Regions from separate parts of the Homo sapiens genome. Here all the other regions are linked to region 3. The links are contacts of gene promoters, found by promoter capture Hi-C in blood cells and fetal thymus (Javierre and others, 2016). All regions are on one chromosome and are shown on one strand. The core of a region is centred on a gene start or on the middle of the fragment in contact, and the rest is flanking DNA. Distances in the headings are between cores, read along the strand shown. Region 1 overlaps SLC9A6 (solute carrier family 9 member A6). Region 2 has its middle 62 kb from the start of RBMX. Region 3 holds the start of BRS3 (bombesin receptor subtype 3). Region 4 has its middle 45 kb from the start of RBMX. Region 5 overlaps SLC9A6 (solute carrier family 9 member A6). Region 6 holds the start of RBMX (RNA binding motif protein X-linked).

Evidence for each region. The method cuts DNA at HindIII sites, captures the fragments that hold promoters and counts their contacts. A CHiCAGO score of 5 or more calls a contact.
Region 1: a contact is called between a fragment that was not itself captured here and the fragment with the promoter of BRS3 in region 3, in 2 of 17 cell types (activated CD4 T cells and non-activated CD4 T cells). The highest score is 7.1, in activated CD4 T cells.
Region 2: a fragment that was not itself captured here is called in contact with the fragment with the promoter of BRS3 in region 3 in 3 of 17 cell types (activated CD4 T cells, non-activated CD4 T cells and total B cells); the score reaches 10.0 in activated CD4 T cells.
Region 4: a contact is called between a fragment that was not itself captured here and the fragment with the promoter of BRS3 in region 3, in 2 of 17 cell types (non-activated CD4 T cells and neutrophils). The highest score is 5.6, in non-activated CD4 T cells.
Region 5: a fragment that was not itself captured here is called in contact with the fragment with the promoter of BRS3 in region 3 in 1 of 17 cell types (naive B cells); the score reaches 5.6 in naive B cells.
Region 6: the fragment with the promoter of RBMX here is called in contact with the fragment with the promoter of BRS3 in region 3 in 9 of 17 cell types (naive CD8 T cells, neutrophils, naive B cells and 6 more); the score reaches 10.1 in naive CD8 T cells.

Annotation. Positions count from the first base shown.
Region 1 is chrX:136,041,361-136,044,227 of GRCh38, reverse strand. The region is part of intron 17 of SLC9A6 (solute carrier family 9 member A6); the gene reads right to left. Among named protein-coding and RNA genes, the nearest start is that of SLC9A6, 57 kb to the right of the region's middle. The HindIII fragment of the contact is 2,208 bases long and covers 399-2,606 here.
Region 2 is chrX:136,940,903-136,943,721 of GRCh38, reverse strand. No RefSeq gene overlaps it. Among named protein-coding and RNA genes, the nearest start is that of RBMX, 62 kb to the right of the region's middle. The HindIII fragment of the contact is 693 bases long and covers 1,112-1,804 here.
Region 3 is chrX:136,486,584-136,489,283 of GRCh38, reverse strand. BRS3 (bombesin receptor subtype 3) reads right to left here and starts at 1,337. Exons shown (of 3, transcript NM_001727.2): 1 at 736-1,337. The coding sequence starts at 1,169. The HindIII fragment of the contact is 2,387 bases long and covers 677-2,700 here.
Region 4 is chrX:136,924,397-136,927,096 of GRCh38, reverse strand. No RefSeq gene overlaps it. Among named protein-coding and RNA genes, the nearest start is that of RBMX, 45 kb to the right of the region's middle. RefSeq lists an enhancer at 1,740-1,879. The HindIII fragment of the contact is 6,538 bases long and covers 1-2,700 here.
Region 5 is chrX:135,991,361-135,994,060 of GRCh38, reverse strand. The region is part of intron 2 of SLC9A6 (solute carrier family 9 member A6); the gene reads right to left. Among named protein-coding and RNA genes, the nearest start is that of SLC9A6, 7.3 kb to the right of the region's middle. The HindIII fragment of the contact is 6,390 bases long and covers 1-2,700 here.
Region 6 is chrX:136,879,464-136,882,163 of GRCh38, reverse strand. RBMX (RNA binding motif protein X-linked) reads left to right here and starts at 1,439. Exons shown (of 9, transcript NM_002139.4): 1 at 1,439-1,567. RefSeq lists enhancers at 1,316-1,914, 1,584-2,043, 2,054-2,113, 1,915-2,514. The HindIII fragment of the contact is 13,799 bases long and covers 1-2,700 here.

The sequences.
Region 1 (2,867 bases), core at 253-2,752, 450 kb after region 3:
GCCAACCAGACTGAAGTGTGACAGCTGCCCAGACTCCTCGTGCTTTCTCTTACCTTCAGGTCCTTCTACATGACCCCTCTTTCCCTTCAAATGACTAACATCCTTTTATCACTTTTGCTCTGAAGTCTTCCTTGAGCTTCTAGGACTAGGTTAGCTGTCCTTCCTGTGTGCTTTCGTGGCATCCTATACTTGGCCCTCTCCCTGTAGTGGCACTTACCCTTGAGCTATAACTGTGTGTGTATCAATCTGCCCTCAAGAGGCTTAGAGTCTAGTGTGTGGCAGGAGCAGACCGATTCACATGTGGTGAAGACACAGGGTGAATGCTACGTAGTCCAACCACCTAATACAGTTTGGGGTACAGAGAAACATATCAAGCCCTCACTGCAGCTCCATAAGCTTTGGTTCTCATGGAAATATTACGACCAAAATAGTATACTTAAATAAGGTTCTACAAAAGGGAAAAGAATCAGGAATACATAGTCCCATATTGGCAAATAAAAAATGTGTGTATAGAAAAGTCTTTTCTTCTTTATGTTTCTGTATTATCTGAAATTTTATTATAATGAGTATATATTACTTTTAAAAAACAGAACAAGTCATTTTTTCTAAATGACTTTAAAGAGAAAGGATCATTCTAAATATTCACATTGATCTAGCATAAAACAGTCTGTCATTGATGCTCCTTGAGGGAAGTATATTCTCCAGCTTTCTAAATCCCATGTCTGTTTGAAAATTTTGAATTTGTCTAAGACCATCAAATAGACTGAGAAGACTATTAGACAAAATCTAAAAAGGAATTTAATCTGCTGTTGCTAGAAATTCCCCTAAATACTCAAAGACCAAAAAAAGTGTGAACTGAAAAATAAACGGCTGGGTATGGGTGGCACATGTCTATTGTCCTAGCTACTGGGGAGGCTAAGGCAGGAGGACTGCTTGAGCCCAGAAGTTTGAGGCCAACCTGGGCAACACAGCCAGAACCCATCTCAAAAACAAACAAACAAACTCATATCCACCAACCAGCCCAAATCCCTTCCTGTCTAATCTAGTTAGGACAGTAAGTCTATCTAACCAGTATCTATCACTTAATTCAGCAATACTCACAAGCTCTGTGGCTCCTTCACAGGTCCACAGGGGCTCTTCAGCACCTTCTAGTGTCTTTATTAAGTTTGAGGTTTGGGGCAATATCTATCAAATTTTAAAATGCACATGCCTTTTGACCCAGTGATTTTACCTTTAAAATCTATTCTATATACTTTTACATAGTTAGGTAAGTTTATATGTAAAAGAATATTCACTATAAGTATTGTTTATAATAGCAAAAAAGGAAATGACTGAAACATCTATCCATAAGAGACTGAATACATGAATTTTGCTACAGCTATGAAATGGAATAGGACGTAGCCATGAAAAGAGAAGGTAAGACATCTAACATACTCACATATAAAGGTATCCATGATGTGTCAGTAATTGAAAAAAAAAGCAAGTAATGGGACAATATGCCTATTATAATCCCATTTGTGTAAAACAATAACAAAGCCATATATACACATATTTATTTGCAATAAAATATATCAGGAAGTATCCACAGTGAGCCTATAATAAAGACTGCCTCGAGGACTGCAGGTAGGAGGAAGGCAACTTTGATTTTTCATTTTGTACATTCCATACTGTATGGATATTTGGCCATGAGCTTGCTAGTGTTATAACTAAAAAAAGCAGTTAACAAAGATAATATAAAAAATTACGTTTGGGCCAGGTGCAGTGGCTCATGCCTGTAATCCCAACACTTTGGGAGGCCAAGGTGAGTGGATCACTTGAGGTCAGGAGTTCAAGACCAGCCTGGCTGACATGGCGAAACCTCGTCTCTACTAAAAAATACAGAAAAATGAGCTGGGTGTGGTGGTGCACACCTGTAATCCCAGCTACTTGGGAGGCTGAGGCATAAGAATCGCTTGAACCTGAGAGGTAGAGGTTGCAGTGAGCCAAGATCGCGCCACTGCACTCCAGCCTGGGTGACAGAGTGAGACTCTGTCTAAAAAAAAAAAAAAAATTAAGTGTGATGGTTGTTATGGGTTAAATTGTGTCCCTCCCCAACCCCCCACCAAAAGATGTTGAAGTCCTAACCCCCAGCACCTGTGAATGTAACCTTGTTTGGAAATAGGGTCTTGTTTGGAAATAAGGTAGGCCCTGATTCAATATGACTGGTGTCCTTATGAATAGGAGAAATTTGGACACGGAAGTAGGCATGCACACAGGTAGAACCCCATGTGAAGATGAAAGTAGAGATACATAGTGATGCATCTGTAAGTCAAGGAAGGTCCAAGATAGCCAGGAAGCCACCAGGAGTTAGAAGAGAGGCCTGGAGCAGATTCTCCCTCACAGCCTAGAAGGAACTGACCCGGCCAACAACTTGACTTTGGATTTTAGCCTCCAGAAATAAGAGATGATAAGTTTCTATTGTTTAAGCCATTCGGTTTTGGTACTTTGTTACAGCTGCTCTAGGGAGCCTGTTGTGTTTCGCTACATTCCAAGGACACAGGTTTGTTGTGGACCTCTTCTGGCTTTTGGTGACAGCGAGTGGGTCTCTGGAATCCAAGAGCCAAGCTTCACTGCCTGAACCAACAGAGCTGGCTGACTTCTCTGCACAGTTATGTGGGTTAACAGGGCATGGTGGAAATGGAGACAATGTTTGAGAGGCGAGCCTGGGCAATGTGGAAGGGAGAGGAGGGGCAACATGGGGTGTGTGCCCCATCTCACAGGCACAGTCTGTCAGAAACATGCACTGACACGACATAACACAAAGCCGTAGGATGCTCCTCCCTGGCCCAGATGCCACCCCTACTCTGCCTACTCTCTCCTGTCCATTT
Region 2 (2,819 bases), core at 209-2,708, 450 kb before region 3:
GCAGCAAAGATCATGTTAAGAGCTCTCACCGAAGTAGAAGCACTATTTTATTATAAACCTCTGGCCTTATATATGGGCTGCACAAGGCTTTATAGGCCAGTTTCAGAACTTTGGCTTTTACTCTAAGTAAGATGAGAAGTCAATGGAAGATTCTAAGCAGAGGATTGAAAAGAGCTGACATTTCCAAAGAAATGCTCTGAATACTGTATTGAGAACAGACCCCTAGAAAATAAGGGTAGCAGCAGGGAGACTGGCTAGGTTTTTGCAATAGTCCAAGTGAGGTAAAATGATATCTTGGACCAGATGATAGTGGTAGAGGAGTTGAGAAGTGGTGGATTCTGAAATATTTCAAAGGGAGAGAGCCACATGGTCTGTCAAAGGATTGGACTGAATAGGGGGTATGAGTGAAGAGTGAAAAAGAGGAATTAAGGGTGATGCCATGATTTGTGGCCTGAGCAACTGCAAAGATGGAGTTGCCACTTACTGAGATGGGAAAAACAACAGGGGAAGCACATCCAAGTGGTCATGTCCTAGCCAAGCGCTGTGGCTCATGCCTGTAGTCCCAACACTTTGAGAGGCCAAGGCGGGCAGATCATTTGAGGTCAGGAGTTCAGAACCAGCCTGGCCAACATGCTGAAACCCCGTCTCTACTAAGAATACAAAAATTAGCCAGGTATGGTGGTGCGCACCTGTAATCCTAGCTACTCAGGAGGTTGAGGTAGGAGAATCGCTTGGGCCTGAGGCAGGAGAATTACTTGAGCCCAGGAGGCAGAAGCTGCAATGAGCAGAGATCACGCCACTGCACTCCAGCCTGGTCAACAGAGCAAGACTCTGTCTAAAAAAAAAAAAAGACAAACAAACAAACAAAAAAAAACAAGCAGACATGTCAAATAGACAGATAAATATACAAGTCTAGAGATCTAACAGTCATCATGGTAACACCATGAGACAGGTAAGACTACCAAAGTATGAGTATAACTAAAGAAGATAAAAAGTTCAAAGACTGAGTTGAGTCTGAGGGCTCTCCCACATTAGGAGTTTACAAAAATGAGGAGGAGATTAAGAAGTGACCAGTAAGAAGTGACCAGTGAGACAGGAAACCAGGAAAGCTTGGTAACCTAAAACTCAAATGAAGCAAGTATTTTAAGAATAAGACGTCGGGTGTAGCGGCTCACACTTGTAATCCCCGCACTTTGGGAGGCCGAGGTGGAAAGATCAGTTGAGGCCAGGAGTTCAAGACCAGCCAGGGCAACATAGCGAGACCCCATCTCTACAAATAAAAATAAAAATACAGCCAGACATGGTGGTGCATGCCTGTAGTCCCTGCTACTCAGGAGGCTGAGGTGGGAGGATCACTTGAGCCCAGGAGTTCAAGGCTACAGTGACCTATGATGGCACCACTGCACTCCATCCTAGGTGACAGAGTGAGACCCTGTCTCTTAAAAAAAAAGAAAGAAAAGAAAAAGAGATGATTAACTATGGTAAAAGTCAGGGAAATTATTAGCCAGCCACAGTGCCTAAAATAAAACACAAGACTGTAGACCTAGCAAACAGCTAGGTCTAACTCACTTCCATGGCCTTGGGCAGCTTGTTTAATTCTGAAAAAGATAAATTATAACACAGTCCTTGCCCTCGGGGGGCCTATATAAATGACCTTTACAGCGATTAGATAAAAGTTTGATTGTATGTACACATAAACTATTTCTGTAGGCAGTGTAGAATAAATACAACTGTAGAAGATTATTTTCTTGGCTTTTTTCCTCTGAGTATGAGAATATGAGATGTGACTACAAAGCATTAAGCTTGATTTTCACATAGCTGGTGAGATTAGCTTCCTGTATGATCACACTTTGTTTACTACCTTTTTAACCAAATCCATTCAAATATGAGCAAGCAGCCTGAGTCAGACCTCACAGTCCATCACCTTAATTCTGTTTCCAAATATCAGAAGTGACATAAAAAAGCATGAGTGATTGTCCTTGACATTGGTAAGGCATTTCCTGGCATCTCTTAGAAGCTATGTTTACTCCTGTTATTTATAAATATGCCCTAAACCTTTTAATTCCTCTTTTATTTCTCGTTGGCAACACCTTGTAGAGATAAATAAGCTGCAATTTTTTTTTAATTTTTTTTTTTTGAGACAGAGTCTCACTCTGTTGCACAAGCTGGAGTGCAGTGGCTTAATCTCAGCTCACTGCAACCTCTGCCTCCCACGTTCAAGCGATTGGCATGAATCCTGCCTCAGCCTCCCGAGTAGCTAGGACTACAGGCGCACGGCCACCATGCCCAGCTGATTTTTTTATTTTTAGTAGAGACGGGGTTTCATCATGTTGGCCAGGCTGGTCTCAAACTCCTGACCTCAGGTGATCCGCCCGCCTCGGACTCCCAAAGTGCTGGGATTACAGGTGTGAGCCACCACGCCCGGCAAAATGTTTTCTAATTTAAATTGGAGCTATCTGTGTAGTGGTTTCTCTACAGTTGTACATAAATGTTTTTGCTATAAAATGAGCTATGTATAAAATACTACTCTATACCATAATAAAGATAGTAATACGTTGAAAAACAAAAAAAATCAAAGTTCATACAAATCACTCAGGGGTCTTGCTACAATGCAGATTGATTCATTAGATCCTAAATGAGGCCTGAGATTCTGTATGTCAGGTGATATCAATGCTGCTGATCTCAGAACACACTTCAAGAACTATTCCTCCAGGCCAGGCGCGGTGGCTTACACCTGTAATCCAATAACTTTGGAAGGCCGAGGCGGGTGGATCACCTGAGGTCAGGAGTTCGAGACCAGCCTGACCAATATGACGAAA
Region 3 (2,700 bases), core at 88-2,587:
ACAGTTATTCTACAATAGGAACACAGAAAAACAGAGTACTTGGACTGAAAATATCCTAACACAGAATCTGAACACCCTGACTGCAAGAGGATCTCACACGCTCTCTCCACAGAGCTCTAAAAGTCAACCAAGATTAATTTATTTCTCTGGAAATGATAATGTCACTGAATGCCTACAGAGAAAACAAGTAGAATTACGTGATGACATTACACTAAGTTACCAGGGAGTTGAAAACCTCACCGTTTTTCTGCCATTAGCTAATTTGATGAATTTCAAATAAATTAGATGCCTGTGTCTTTTTACCACTCTTCCAATATACAGTTATACATATGTGGTCAATTTCACACCTATCCTGGTTTTCATGTTGACTATATTGCACCACTAGGCTGCACTAATGTATAAAGCATGAATTTTTTTCCTTTACACCTGGAACAATTTGCTTTACTTAATAAACTGGAGAAAAATAAAAACCCCGTTCAGTATACTTCCGAGCAAACAATAAGAATAAATTATCCATAAAGCATGCAATTTCAACTTCTCCTCCGTGCTAACACAGAAATTTTAACATTCTTACACTAACTTTTATTTTAAATGCCACCAGATTTTCCAATCTCACATCCACGTTACAGAGTGTGAGAAAAGCAGAATAGTAGCCAGTAAATGCTAAGTACAAGCTTTCCTTTCTTTTTGCCCAATTTCACATCCTGGCAAATATAATGGAGAAAAGAAACTCACCTGTCAGCGCTGAGAATTGTTAATGTGAACACTGACACACCAACAGAAGTGAGCCGGATGAAAGAGAGCACCTTACAACCAATTCTTCCGAACAGCCATCCTTCTGCAAGGTAGTGAGTTGCATCCACTGGCACACAAGTTAGCAGAAGTAAAAGATCTCCAAAAGCCAGGCTGGTGATGAAAATATTTGGAACTGTTTGCATGGATTTGGTCTTGAAAAAGACTTTGATGAGAATAGCATTTCCAAGGATGCCCACTGAAATGATCACAGCATAAGTAATATAGATGGCACACAATGCTTCTATTCCTGGAGAGTTGTCCCCGCTCCATCCTTTATTTGTGTTATCGTTAGAAACCACAGAGCTTGATGATTCTGTGTCATTTGTGATTGAAATTAAAGTCTGATTAGGTGAGTGAGGCTGCCTTTGAGCCATTTCTTCTGAAGACTGTGTCTTTAATATTTCTTCTTCTCAGTTCAAATGCAGTTGATTGTCACGTCCAATGCCTACGTCTAGTAACGAGATGGTATTAGGAGAACAGAACAGAACAGAATGGGAAGAAAATCCAAGACATCCAGATACTCCTTTGCTTCAGTTCTGTGTGTCTCCCAGCATGCTTGGCTAAATGCTTACCCATCTGGCACTGAAGAGTAGGAGGTGGAGTTTTATTGGCGTGTCCTGTCATAAGGAGAGGGAGGGGGCTGGGGAAATGCTCTGCAGTTGCTTATTCTTCCCTGTTGGGGAATCTTGGGACCAACTAGACCCTATTAAATCGTCTTATTTATTATTAGAATCACCCTGTTTTCATATCTACCCAGGATGGTCTATATAGGTTTTGTCAATTTTTTTTAAGAAAAAAACCATTTATCCCCCTGCAATCACATGGTAGTCTAGTGCATTTTGTTTTACATGATAAATAAGTGTAGGTGTCCCCTGAAGCACAACCTTGAACCCACTCCTCAAAATTTAATATCAGAGAGATGGTGAAGCAACAGATCATTTACACTTCGACAGGGTTTATGTCACCTCCAAGGAGTGATCATTCAGGTCACTTGGGCTTAATACCTAGCTCTGTCACGTGGTAAACCCCAACTTTGCAGTTATCCAGGCTGTGCTGTACACTATCAAAACAACCTTTTTAATTTTTTTTTTTTTTTTGAGATGGAGTCTCACTCTGTCACCCAGGCTGGAGTGCAGTGGCTCGATCTTGGCTCACTGCAACCTCCACCTCCTGGGTTCAAGCAATTCTCCTGCCTCAGTCTCCCGAGTAGCTGGGATTACAGGCGCCCGCCACCATGCCTGGCTAATTTTTGTATTTTTAGTAGAGACAGGGTTTCACCATGTTGGCCAGGCTGGTCTTGAACTCCTGACCTCAGGCAATCCGCCTGCCTCAGCCTCCCAAAGTGCTGGGATTACAGGCATGAGCCACCACACCCAGCCAAAACAACCTTTTAAGAGATGAAAAATCCAGGCACAGCACCAGTTGCTTTGTCTCTAAATGTCCTAATAAAACCACTTTTTACTGTTTGACTGTCTGTTTTAATGCCATGTTTTCTTTTAAGGGGCTGTTTAGGATTTTTCTCTCTAGAAATGGTTAAAGGGAACCTAACCTGCCTTATTCCAAAACAAAACAATACAGAACATCACTGCTCAAGCTCCTGACACAAAAGAACTTTTAAGAATGAAAATCATCATTTGCAGATGAAGAAATGAAATAGGTGACTCCAGGGATGATGGGCATGTAGATGATGTTTACATCAACTGAAAGAAGTACACATTTAAGGCAACCACCTCAGTACCAGCCAGAGAAGCTACTTTTTACAGAAAACATAACCATGTGCTTTATATGTATGTGTTTGTGGTGGGGGCACTGTTTGGGAGCAGGAAGCTAGCAGTTGGAGTGTAGTTACTAATTGAAGCTGCTAAGAAATATTCTCTGAAATTATCAAATGCAATGCATAATCTC
Region 4 (2,700 bases), core at 108-2,607, 440 kb before region 3:
CAAAGCGAGACTCTGTCAAAAAATAATAGTAAAATTAAAAAATAAATAAAAAGTGTAGACATAGGCTGAGTGTGGTGGCTCACGCCTGTAATCCCAGCACTTTGGGAGGCCGAGGCGGGTGGATCAAAAGGTCAGGAGTTCGAGACCAGCCTGACCAATATGGTGAAACCTCGTTTCTACTAAAAAAACAAAAATTAGCCAGGTGTGATGGCGCATGCCTGTAATTCCAGCTACTTGGGAGGCTGAGGCAGGAGAATTGCTTGTACACAGGAGGCAGAGGTTGCAGTGAGCCAAGATCATGGCATTGCACTCCAACCTAGGTGACAGAGCAAGACTCGGTCTCAAAAACAAACAAACAATATGTTGTACACAAGAGACATATCTAAAACAAAGAGATTCTGAAAACTTAAAAATAGAAGGATAAGCAAAGTTATACCAAGCAAATGCATACAAAAAGAAAGCAAGGCCGGACACGGTGGCTCACGCCTATAATCCCAACACTTTGGGAGGCAGAGGCAGGCAGATCACCTGAGGTCAAGAGTTCAAGACCAACCTGACCAACGTGGACAAACCCGTCTCTACTAAAAATACAAAATAAGCCAAGCATGGTGGCACATGTCTGTAATTCCAGCTACTCAAGAGGCTGATGCCGGAGAATCGCTTGAACCCAGGAGGTGGAGGTTGCGGTGAGCCAAGATTGCGCCACTGCACTCCAGCCTGGGCAACAAGAGTGAAACTCTGTCTCAAAAAAAAAAAAAAAAAAAAAAGGTGGCCTGATTCAGTCATTCCACAATGCAAGCATATATCAAAACAGCATGTTGTACACCGTAAATATAAACACTTTGTCAACTTTAAAAGTAAAAATTAAAATTAAAAATAAAACAGGCCGGGAACAGTAGTTCACGCCAGTAATCCCAGCACTTTGGGAGGCCAAGGCAGGTGGATGACCTGAGGTCGGGAGCTCGAGATCAGCCTGGCCAACATGGCGAAACCCCATCTCTACCAAAAATACAAAAATTAGCCATGCATGGTGGCAGGTGCCTGTAGTCCCAGCTACTCTGGAGGCAGAGTCAGGAGAATCACTTGAACCTGGGAGGCAGAGGTTGCAGTGAGCTGAGATTGTGCCAATGCACTCCAGCCTGGGCGACAAGAGCGAAATTCCATCTCAATAAATAAATAAATAAATAAATAAAAATATGTTTCTTAAAAAAGAAAATAAGGAGGTGGGACTTCCTTCTTGGCCCAAGACATGGTAGAATAACAAAGACCAGATTTACCCTCCTACTTACACAACTTTAAAAATGAGTAAAATATGTAAAGCAACAGTTTCCAAACATTGGACAAGAAATATAAGAGTGATCACCTAGGGAAGGGGAACAAATAAGATAAGCCCTACTATTGCCTCCAGCTTACTTCCTAGATAAAATTTCCAGGCTGTGACACAGGGAAAAGGTATCCATGCACAGCCCTGCAGTCTCCTAGGGTTGAGAAAACAAAGTTCAAAGTCCAGGGAGGCCAAAGGCACTAGAATTCATGGAGCAGAGGACCAGAGAGAACAGAGCTGCACACAGATAAGTTTCTGGAAATATGTAGAGTTTTCCTTATCTGGTCCGTACATGCGTGTAAGGTGTGTCTGTTATTGATATATTGCCTCTCAGCTCCAAATTCATGAGTTTTGCCCCCCATGAAAATAATTCAGACCCTTTAAATAGTTTACCTCTACAAACTGGCACTAAAGCAGGTTTGTCAGTAGAGGGCGCTGGAGAGACATCGCAAGGGAAAGGGTTTATTTCCTGGTTGATCTTGGCTCACTCCACAGGCTTCTGTTTTCTTTCAGCATGCTGCAGCCCCTAATGAATGAATGAACCCAGGTATCACAACAAAAAAGAGAGACAAAAAAAATCATGTGCCTCCTGATGAAAGAACACAACTGCCACCTCACCTTCTCAAAGAAGCCAAACCTGAATCTGATCAAGCCACTGGATCCAGCTGCCAATTTGCAGGAAATATAGGACACAGGAACATGCACAATGGATTGGATTGAATGATACAGGGATGGACAGATATGTGATAAATCAAATAGAGCAAAATGGTAATTGCAGAATATAAATGTTGGATAGATGAGTGTCCACTATATAATTCTATTTTTTTTTTTTTTTTTTTTGAGACAGGGTATCACTCTATCACCCAGACTGGGGTGCAGTTGTGCTATCACAGCTCACTGTAGCCTCAGCCTCCTGGGCTCAAGCGATCCTCCCACCTCAGCCTCCTGAGTAGCTGGGACTACGGATGCATGCCACCATGCACCAATTTTTAAAAACTTTTTGGAGAGATGGGGTCTTGCAATATTGCCCTGGCTGATCTCCAACTCCTGGGCACAAACGATCCTCCCACCTTAGCCTCCCAAAGTGCTGCGATTATAGGCGTGAGCCACTGCGCCTGGCCCACCCAAGTTTTCTGTTTGAAAATGCTCATAGTAAAATGTTGACAAAAGACATATAAAAAGTCAAGTTTAAACTATACTGTGGCTAGGCGTGGTGGCTCACACCTGTATTCCCAGCACTTTGAGAGGCCAAGGTGGGCAGATCATCTGAGGTCAGGAGTTCAAGAGCAGCCTGGCCAACCTGGTAAAACTCCATCTCTACTAAAAATATGAAAATCAGCCAGGCACGGTGGTGTGCGCCTGTAATCCCAGCTATT
Region 5 (2,700 bases), core at 181-2,680, 500 kb after region 3:
TGCACTTCGCAAGTTTATTCCCAAAGCACATGACTGGCCAAACAATGCACATTTAACAAATTGAAAAGTCAATAATATTTGTAGGTTGATTGAGTTCTTCTACTTCTAAAAGATCAGATTTTAATTTTAAAAATCTGCTTCAAAATCAAAACATGGAATAGAAGTCCTGAATCTGGCACTATGACATCAAACAGATTGCTGGATCATCCTACTGACATTCAAATATGCACAATGTTCTAGGTACTGTAAAACTAAATTTTTTTTTTTTCTGAGACGAAATTTTGCTCTGTTGCCCAGGCTGGAGTGCAGTGGCATGATCTCGGCTCACTGCAACCTCCGCCTCCCGGGTCCAATCAATTATCCTGCCTCAGCCTCCCAAGTAGCTGGGATTATAGGCTCACACCAACACACCTGGCTAATTTTTGTATTTTTAGTAGAGATGGGGTTTCACCATGTTGGCCAGGCTCCTGACCAAGGTCGAACTCCTGACCTTGTAATCCATCCACCTCGGCCTCCCAAACTGCTGGGATTACAGACCTGAGCCACCATGCCCAGCCCTATAAAACTATATTGATCGACTATAATTGTTTAGTAATGGCTTTACTGATATCTAATTCAAACACCAAAAGTTTATCCTTTTAAAAACTGTACAATTCAGTGGTCTTTAGTGTATTCACAAAGTTGAACATCAATCACCACTATCTAATTCTAGAACATTTTCCTTCCCTCCAAAAAGAACCCCACACCTACTAGCAGTCACTCTCCATTCCCCCATGCCCGAATCCACAGCCCCTGGCAACCACTCATCTACTTTCTTTCTTTATGGACCTGTCTTTTCTAGACATTTCATATAAATGAACTCCTACAATATATGGCCTTTTGTGTCTGACTTCTTTCACTTAGCATATTTTCAAGGTTTATCTATGTTGTAGCATGCATCAGAACCTCATTTACTTTTACGACCAAACGATATTTCATTGTATGGACATACCTCAACTACAAATAAAACCCAAACTTCTGGAACTTTCCTTAACTCCATGCATAGTATACCACTACTAGCTGCATTTTACCTTCCTATTGCCTTTCATTCTGACTAGCCAGCCATTCTTTTAATACGTGAATGAGTGTACTATGCTAGGTAGGCCTCCAGGGTTCAGAGATGAAAACAAGGTCCCTCCTTCAAGGAAAACTCGGTCCAGTTGGTGAAAACAGACTGAATAAACAATCATAATGTCAAGGAAAACTCGGTCCAGTTGGTGAAAACAGACTGAATAAACAATCATAATGCTATATATATATATGTATACAAGGTATTATAAAAACAGAAAAGAGACAACTATGCAACCCTGGGGGAGTAAGACATTAGGGAAGTCTTTCCAGAGATGTCACCTGGGCAGGTAACAAACTAGAAGAAATGGGTATATTCCACGTAGGGGAATAGTAGTACATATCAGTCAAGGATGGAGACAACACAGCCCATCCAGTGAATCAAGTAGTTTAGTATGGCTGGCTTATAAAGTGACAAGAGTTGAGGTTTGAAAGATTGGCAGGAGTTGAATCATAAAAGATCTTATCTGTTGGGGAAGGGAATTTGAAGTTTATCCCAAAAGTAAAATGAAGTCATAGAAGGCAGAGGCTTGATAGCAGATTTCTACTTTAGAAAGACTGGTCTAGACTAAAGAGGGTCTAAAAGGCTAGATACAGGGCTACTGTAGGCATTCAGGCAATAAGAGTTTAGGTCCTAACCTAAGAGAGTACTGACAGGAGGCGAGAAGGATTTTTTGAAGGTATTATATTTTAGGAAGATTTAGTGACTGAGGAAGGGAGATGAAAGACTAAGAGGAACCTTAATTGATTTGGTAACCAGGTGGGTAAGTTGGCCTGAGCACCGAGGGGGATAACAAGGACATTCAATGAGGTAAGGAACATACACAGATGAACAGATTTACAGGGGAAAAGGCTACATTCAGTTTTGGACACGTTGAGTTGGATGTACTTGTGACACACGCATAGTTGAGTATGTGGTATCTGGAGCTAAAGCGAGGGGTCTCAACTGGAGATATACACTGTGCAGTCATAAGATGGTTGAAGTCAGATGTAGATGAGATCGCCAGGGGAGCAAGTAAAATGGGAAGAAGACTATGATATAGATCTGGGGTTTGATCTATTAACAGCCAACATTAAGGGGCTGCTAGAGGAGAAGGAGCTGATGAAGGAGTCTGAGAAGGAAAACCCACAGGAGTAGAAAAAAAAAGGAACCAGTGGTGGCAAAGTCAGGAAGAAAGGGAAAAAATTCATTTTTGAGGAGAAGGAAGTGATAAAAACTATCAAATGCTATAGTAAAGTCGAGTAAGGCAGGCATTAGAAGTATCCATTGGGTTTGGCAACAAGGAGGCCATAGGTGACCTTGATAAGAGCAGTTTCAGTGGAGTAGCAGGAGTGGAAACCAGACCCAAGTGAGAAGTGATGAAGCAGAAATGAGGAGGTATAAGAGCAGTCGTTGCCAGCCGGGCGCAGTGGCTCACGTGTAATCCTAGCACTTTGGGAGGCCGAGGCGGGTGGATCACTTGAGGTCAAGAGTTCGAGACCAGCCTGGCCAACATAGTGAAACCTCATCTCTACTAAAAATACAAAAATTAGCCGGGCGTGGTGGCAGGCACCTGTAATCCCAGCTACTTGGGAGGCTGAGGCAGGAAAGTT
Region 6 (2,700 bases), core at 190-2,689, 390 kb before region 3:
AGCGAATTTTTAAAATATGAGATTTGGGACATACTATACTAAAAAAAGTATTCGTTATCTGAAATTTAAACTTAACTGGGCGTCCCTTTTTTTTTTTTTAGACGAAGTCTCGCTCTGTTGCCAGGCTGGAGTGCAGTGGTATGATCTTGGCTCACTGCAACCGCCGCCTCCTGGGTTCAAGCAATTCTCCTGCCTCAGCCTCCCGAGTAGCTGGGACTACAGGCACACGCCGCCACGCCCGGCTAATTTTTTTATTTTTTATTTTTATTTTAGTAGAGACGGGGTTTCACCATGTTGCCCAGGCTGGTCTCAAACCCCTGAGCTCAGGCAATCTGCCCGCCTCGGCCTCCCAAAGTGCTAGGATTACAGGCATGAGCCACCGCGCCCCGGCCGCGTCCCATATTTTTATTTAAAATTTTTTAACAGCTTCGCAGAATAAATTAGCGTCCCGCATTTTCTTTTTTATTTTGAGACGGAGTCTCGCTCTGTCGCCTGCCCAGGCTGGAGTGCGGTGGCGCAGTCTTGGCTCACTGCAACCTCCGCCTCCCGGATTCTCCTGCCTCAGCCTCCCGAGTAGCTGGGACTACAGGCGCGTGCCACCACGCCTGGGTAATTTTTTGTATTTTTAAAAAGAGACGGGGTTTCACCGTGTTAGCCAGGATGGTCTCCATCTCCTGACTTCGTGATCCACCGACCTTGGCCTCCCAAAGTGCTGGGATTACAGGCGTGAGCCACTGCACCCGGCCTGGTATTTTCATTTATTAAATCCGGCATCCTTACCCACAGGCCTGACTCTTGTCTTTTCCCTGGAGTTGTATTTTCCTGGCCTAGCCCAGAGCCCACCATTTACAAGGTGCTCAGTAATTGTTCTATATGAATGTACTATCTGCATGCTGTTTTGTACGTTTTTTACTCATCTGAAATTTACATGTATTTATCAGAAATTCCCACACTCACTAAAAACACTTGTTAAAGACAATTTTTGAAAATATATTATATTGCCAAAACTTCTTTGTTTTCCGTTTCTGCAAAATTGGTATAGTAGGAGTATCTACCCTCATCACATTTTGACAATTAGAAGAGTTAATGGAAAAGTAAAAGTAAAGTTTTGCACCGTGCCCGGCCCACTAGGACGCTCAATAAACTTCAGTTCTTTATTAAAGGAAGCCTGTGCACCATTTTAGCGTAAAGCAAAAAAAGCGCGTTTGTAAAGAACGGGTGGGGGTAGAGAAAACGGTTAGAAAGGTCTGTCGACCCAACACCGAGGGCCCGGGAAAAAGGGAGGAGAGAAGGGTGAATGACAGAGGAGCCAGCCAATGGGGAGACTGGGAACTACTTCCCCCCTCCCTTTGCGTTTCAAATTCTAAGCTCCGTTTCCATCCGGGTCCTTCAGCCTCGTTCCCGGGCAGTATAAAGTTTGCTGTCTCCTTTGTTCGCCCTCGTTGCGCAGTAGTGCTAGCGGCTTCGCGGTTCGGTCCTCGCACCCGGCAGCCGCCACTGGTGCTGAGCTGCTAGGAAGCCCCTATCGCCGAGCTCGTTGGAGCTTGAACCCATTGTCACCCCTCCGGTACGTGTCTCCTTTCCTCAGTCCGTTTTTCGTGACACTCTCCCCGTGTTAGGACTGGGGATTATATCTCCCTGGAGATGGGGGTGGCGGGCGCCATTTTAAGAACCCAAAGGTTCCGACCTATTTAAATAAAGCTGAGGGGGTCGAGGGAAAACAAATGAGGGGGCCCGTTTGGTTGTATGCTTCTCGAGAAAGTTTGGCTGCCATCTGCGGGAGTTGGTAGCGGAGGTCGGGGCTTTGTAGGCTGGAGCGGGGCGAGGAGCGACCGCACCACGGCGATACCTGCATTGGTATGGCGCTGGCGCTAATGATGGGCATGTGGACTTCCATGCGGGCTGCGGGCTTCGTATTCATTGGCGGCCCCGGAGAAGAAGCCCTCTGAATGTTCCCAGCCAATGTTGGTGGTAAAAGTTAGTCCCCTGACCAGTGTCGGTGGTTCTGGGTTGAATCCAAGTGTCGCCATTTTGTCTTTTACACGCGGTTTTTAATGACGAGTTTTAATTAGGTTCCGCTGCAGTCACGGAGTGTCGAGTGTTAGTGTGTGCGTCCGCGTTCCGTTACTTAATAGCAAACGATGTTGACGATTTGTTTTTATCTTTTTGGCCGGATAGTAGAATTTTCGGTAGGGCGGGGGCCGGTGAAGAAGAGGGGCGGCATAACTTGGCTTAAACTTCACATTTCTCCTTGGATTTAGTAGGGAATCCTAATGAGGAAAAGAGGAGTCGTTGGAAGAGGGCTTGGTGTTAAGGTCCTGTGTCTAGCCTGTGACCTTGGGAGTCTTTTAAAACCATCGTTAGGAAGGGTGTGATGAGTAATTGAATCTTTCAAAGGCAAGAGGACTGGAACTAAAAGTTGCTTTTTCAAATGTTAAGCAGCTGTTGCTTAAGAACAGCTAAGGGTGATCAAGGGTAGTGGTAAAAGTTAAGTTGGCCCTTTTAACCAGTTTTATGTAAATTGCAGTGTTACTAAACTACTTAGTTCAAATTGCTTCCTACTGTGGCTGAGGCTTAGCTCGTTATCGTTTTCTTTAGTTATTAAGGAACAATGGTTTTAGTGGAAAATATGAGAAATGTGCGAAAGTAAAAGTGTCCAATAAACTTGAGGAACTTTTTGCAGTGAGGTAATACTATTCC